2 separate regions of the Homo sapiens genome follow, and region 2 is linked to region 1. The links are contacts of gene promoters, found by promoter capture Hi-C in blood cells and fetal thymus (Javierre and others, 2016). All regions are on one chromosome and are shown on one strand. The core of a region is centred on a gene start or on the middle of the fragment in contact, and the rest is flanking DNA. Distances in the headings are between cores, read along the strand shown.

What was found. Contacts are between HindIII fragments. The CHiCAGO score rates a contact against its expected background, and 5 or more counts as called.
Region 2: a contact is called between the fragment with the promoter of TNKS2 here and the fragment with the promoter of KIF20B in region 1, in 1 of 17 cell types (fetal thymus). The highest score is 6.4, in fetal thymus.

Annotation. Positions count from the first base shown.
Region 1 is chr10:89,700,308-89,702,917 of GRCh38, reverse strand. KIF20B (kinesin family member 20B) reads right to left here and starts at 1,328. Exons shown (of 33, transcript NM_001284259.2): 1 at 1,238-1,328. RefSeq lists enhancers at 650-1,166, 1,167-1,682 and a silencer at 1,727-1,806. The HindIII fragment of the contact is 4,302 bases long and covers 1-1,825 here.
Region 2 is chr10:91,797,115-91,799,724 of GRCh38, reverse strand. It overlaps TNKS2 (tankyrase 2), which reads right to left and starts at 1,299. Exons shown (of 27, transcript NM_025235.4): 1 at 836-1,299. The coding sequence starts at 1,034. It overlaps TNKS2-DT (TNKS2 divergent transcript), which reads left to right and starts at 1,434. Exons shown (of 2, transcript NR_108071.1): 1 at 1,434-1,488. RefSeq lists a silencer at 931-1,340 and an enhancer at 1,421-1,590. The HindIII fragment of the contact is 6,559 bases long and covers 1-2,610 here.

The DNA of each region.
Region 1 (2,610 bases), core at 79-2,578:
GCCTTCCCAACTAAACTGGAAACTTCTTGATGGCAAGAACCTTGCCTTATACCACTCTGTATCCCCTATAACAAATTCAGCGACTTATGCAGGGATAAAGACTACCTAATGACTTAAAATAATGGTTATAAAGAAAATACTATTCCAAAAAAAAAAAAAAAAGTCGGTCCTAGTCTGTAATATTATCTTTCGTGACAGCAGGCTCCAAGACCTCATTTTTCATTTCAAAAGGCTGCTCTGACTGGAAAACTGCATATTTACCCTCTCTCCAATAAGAATCCACAATTGGAGACTTTGGTGAAAAATAGCAGAATCTGTTGCTGAATGAGGTTTCTGAATGTGGTCTACAACACAAAGCCTCAAAAAAAGTCTTCACAACTAATCGATGAGTATTTTATGTTATTTTTACAATTTAAAATCTGGAGTCTTGGACATGTAAGATAAATACACTGTTACACTACCTAACCCATAAGGCGTGAACTTCTGTAAACTAGTAGTTTAGCAAGAAATATAAGAGAACTGTGCCAGACATGCATCACTGAACCAGCGAGCGAATCGAGATGGAGAAAGCCTTCTAAACTGGGGAATGACAGCAGTCACTGTGCCACAAACTCTTCAGCCTGGCACTGCAAAACCCTAGAAGGGCAAGCCCCAAGGACCAGTAGGAGTAGTCTGGAAATAAGTGCACAGAGGCTACCACAGGGCTCCCCCCGCAAAAAGGCCGTGTTACCTACCAGCCGAGCAAACTGCTCACCTCAGAGCTTCAGAAAACTAGGTGTGGCAAAACAGGCCTGTTCCTCAACAACAACAGAAGCAACAACAATAATAATATTAATAACTGCAAACATTTAGTACCTACTGTGTGCCAGCACTAATAACTTTACACATTACCATTTAATCTTCACAAAAGCCGAAAGAAATAGACACTTCATTGCAGCCTTTTAACTGATAAGAAAACTAAGGTACAGAGAGAGATTAAATGAATTGTCTTGCGTCACTCAGCTAATTAGCAGTGGAGGCGAGATTTAAACCGTAACCGAATTAGTATGACTCATTCCTCGCTGCGTACCCCGTGTTCGCATCGCTCCGCAACCCAGTTCCTGACAGTAACCTCCACTGGGGTATGAGCCCTGTCGGAACATGTCCACATTGCCAAAGCCGTTTCCCCACCTTAGGCCCCATACATGCGCAGTCACCCACCTCCTTCCCCACACATTCCCGCGGGTCACCTCCTCACCTGCAAACTTCGCCTGACTAGCCAGACCCGCGAGCAGCACTGCGATGTTACCGTTTTCAAATTCAAACAATGGCGGCCAGGGCACCGCACTGAACGCTGGGAGTAGGTGGGGCGTCCAGAGCTCCGCCAGGGAGCGTAGCCGGCTCGCGCTGCGGGCTTTCCAGTGGCTACCGGAAGAAGCTCTCCAATATGGGGGCGGGTCTTGAAACGCGGGCAGCCAATGGGCGGAAGCAGGCGTGGGCCGCCCTGGTGCTGACGGTCTGGTTTGCCTCCCAGCTCTGCTAGCCGGGCTTTAGTAGTGCGCTTTCTCGCGGCTGTCATAAGTACCACGCTGTTGACTGGGACACCGATCTCCAATTCTGTCCTTGAGGCAATAAAGATGTGGCGAAGGCCCGAGGTGAGGCCACTGCCACTGCACTTAGTCCTGCGACTCCCCTAAGGACGGGCCGAGGAATGGCGGGCTAGCCACTTCCCAGTCCTGTCCCTACGGGGCAGAAAAAGGCTCGGCATCCCGGGATCCGGAGGGTCACTTCCCTCGCTGCATCCCCATTGTGCAACTGCCAGTCTAAAAATTGATATAGGTAAGCTTATGAATGCTAAAACTAATGAATGCAAGATGCTAAAACAAACAATTAACTGAAAGGTTGTAGGGAAGAGGATGTTAGTATCTCAAAGAATCACCCTACAGATCATTTCTTATTATAAAGGGAAAATAGAATTTTACACTGAAGAGATTTATTAGACATACCTTAACCAAGTGAAGATACTTAGCATCGCTAATATCACCCGATAGTATTTGTGCTAGAAATGTTTGACATTAATCATGAGGAAACAATCAGAAAAAAACAATGTAGAATATTCTACAAGACAACAGGCCTAGGCTCTTCAAAAATGTCAGTGTCATGACAGGAAAAAGAAAAAAACGAAGTGGAAAATTACTTTAGTCGAGAGTCAAAAGAAACCAAATGAAATTTGTGAATCTTGGCTGGTTCATAGTTTTTAAAAAAAAAAAAAAACTTCGAAAGACATTTGTGGACAACTGGGGAAATTTAAATATGAACTACATATTAGATGATATTGAATCAGTTTTAAATTGATTGCATGTGAGAATTAATTTGTGATTAAGTGGAAGAATGCCTTTGTTTTTGGAAGGCGCTTGCTAAAGTAATTAGCAGCAAAGTGTCACAGTGTTTGCGGCTTACCTTCAAAAGATATGGCAAAAAAATAGAGAAAGCAAATGTGGCAAAATATTAGTAATTGGTGAATCTAGTTGAAGGGTATAATGGTGTACATCGTACCAGTCTTGCAACTTTCTAAAATAACAGATTTTATAAAATAAAAAGAGGAGGGGGGAAAAGGAATAGAATTCTGAT
Region 2 (2,610 bases), core at 50-2,549, 2.1 Mb before region 1:
TAAGCTGAATATCCCATCTATGGCTCTTTTAAATTTTTCGACTAAATTTAATATGCTTAAATCATAAAGTGAACCTAATAAATATTAAAATAATGTAATTCAAACGATCTAAATTTCAGAATGAAGCAAGGTTAGTCCCAACTTAAATTCTAGATTCAAGCTAAAGTACTTGCACTATCTTTTCTCTTATACTACCACTTTCCGCCCAACTTGTATGTGTGTGTGTCTAAGGCTTCCCGCACCCAGCCTAAGTCAGGTTTCAGTTCTCCCAAACTTGCCTATTTCCCGTTCTAGTCACTCCAGAAACTTGGTAATGATTGGCTATTCTGATAAACCAATTAACGCTAATGTGTCAACGTCCTATTAAGCTACTCCTCCTAAATTACATCCTTGTATTTTACAAAGTCCTTCAAGACCTTAACCCAAATGGAACTTGCAAGAACGAAAAATTTTGGAGGTAACTGACCTTTTAAATCATAAGGTCTATCAACTACGTCCCCTACTCTTTCTTGTGTGTAGAGGCCTTCTAGGGTAACAAGACCGGAAGTTGGTACAGGTATTGTTGATACTGTAAAACAAAACAAAGCCAAAACCCCAAACCACCCCCAACACCTGGCAAAAAAACCAAACCAAGACAAAACAAAAAACTTCCAGCGAGTGTGGCACGCTCACCCTACCCCTAATCTCCTTAGTCCCCACTGGAAGAGAGCGAGATCACCAGGACCAGAGTCCTGGAGAAAGGTCGGGAGGCGGAGGAGCACTGGTTTCAGACCTGTGGGCCCCGGCTGCGCAGGTGGGGTCTGGAGCGAGGCGAGGGGACGCTGGCCCCGGTTACCTGCGGCGAAGTGCAGCGGGGTGGATTTCCTGCCCGCCGTGTCGCGGCTGTTCACCTTCTCAGGCGTCACCAGCCTCTTGACTCGTTCCACGTCCCCGTTGCGGCACGCCTCGAACAGCTCTCGGGCGGCCGGCTCCACGGCCTCGGCCGCGGCGCTCGCGCAGGCCGCTCCCCCGCCGGCGCAGCGGCGACCCGACATGATCCTGGCCGCCGCCACAGCCAGCAACAGCGCCAGCAACCGGAGCAGGAGCCCCGGCCCCGCGAGCAGGAGGGCGAGGCCCCCCGGAGAAGACGCGCTCAGGGCCCGGGCCGCTTGGCTCCCTGCTGTCACCGGATCCGGCGCAGTCCCATGGCCGCGCCCACGCGCGCCCCTCGCTGGGCTCCCTGCCCCCCGGCTGCCCCGCGGCGGCGGAGGCAGCGCGAATCCGCCGTCCGGGTCCTGAAACGACGCGGCGGCGGAAGCTGGCAAGGCCCCTCCTGCCAGCTCCGTCCAGCCCCGGGAGCGCACGTGACGTCGTCCCGCGCGTGCGCAGTGGCCGGGCACCGGCTGGGCAGGTTTCGGCTAGCGAGGCGGCGCGAAGGGTTTGTGGGAAATGTGAGGCGAGAGGCTTCGGCGGCGGGAGAAGGGGCTTCGTCCCACCGCCATCTTTGCGGTGGGTTCTGCTGAAGCCGAACGATCCTGCATATTGTGTTTTTTGTTGTTGTTGTTTTAAGCCCTGGGCTTTCCAGGCTGAACTTTCTCACTACCATTACACTGAAAAAGAGCCCTTGAAAGTTTTGCTCGGATCTTGCACATTCTTTTGGAAGTCTTACTGTGGAAATTGTCCGTGTTTTCAGCTTCCACATCCCTTTCTCCTGGGAGATTTCTTTTCCGTTTTTTTTACTTTGTCTCTTTTCTTTCCTCCGCAACTGCTTTGTTGTTGTTGTTGTTGTTTCTTGTAAACCACTTCTCAAAAGTGAACTAGTTGCCGTTTAATAGAAGTTTGGATGAACTGCCCCCAAAATAAAGGAAATCCGAACAGTCATGGAAGTTGACTCCAATTGGAGGGATGGCTCTGATCAATTACTCTTTCCACAGTAAGTTATTAGCTCAGGATTGATTAGAGGAACTTTTTGTAAATCAATATTGTACCTGACATGCCTAAAGTTTGGATACACTGAGCATACGCATCTCCAAGAAAGTTTTCTGAGTTATAATCTTTTTCTTTGACCAACAAACAAAAGAAAAGCATATAATTGATTTTCATGCTTAAGATACTGGTGTAGTTTTACACGATAATTCCCCACTACACCCCCTTGTCTTAAACTGAAAGAAAGGTATGCCTATACATACATTTTACTTACAGAAGATGATACATGTTGACCTTTGCCATTCTGAAAAGCATCCCCCCCCCAACCTCCTACCTTAACCTGTTTTTCAGGAAATCCAGTTTTTGTTGGGGAATGTTGACTCACTACAGTGCTAAAAGAGGATGTACACTTTTTTGAGCATTTTTATACATATGAAATTGAAGTTATGGTGCTTATCAATAACATGAACATGCATGAACGAACCTAGGACTAGAACACTACCAATATGATTGCGTTTATCATTTTTCTTCCCATAAATCTGCTATGGTGATCTATGATCAGTGATAAGTTGAAATCACTGTTGTAATTGTTTTGAGGCACCACAAACCACACCCATAGAAGACAGCAATCAATCAATAAATGTGTATGTTCTGACTGCCCCACTGACAGGCTACTCTGCCATCTCTCTCCCTCTCCTGGGGCCT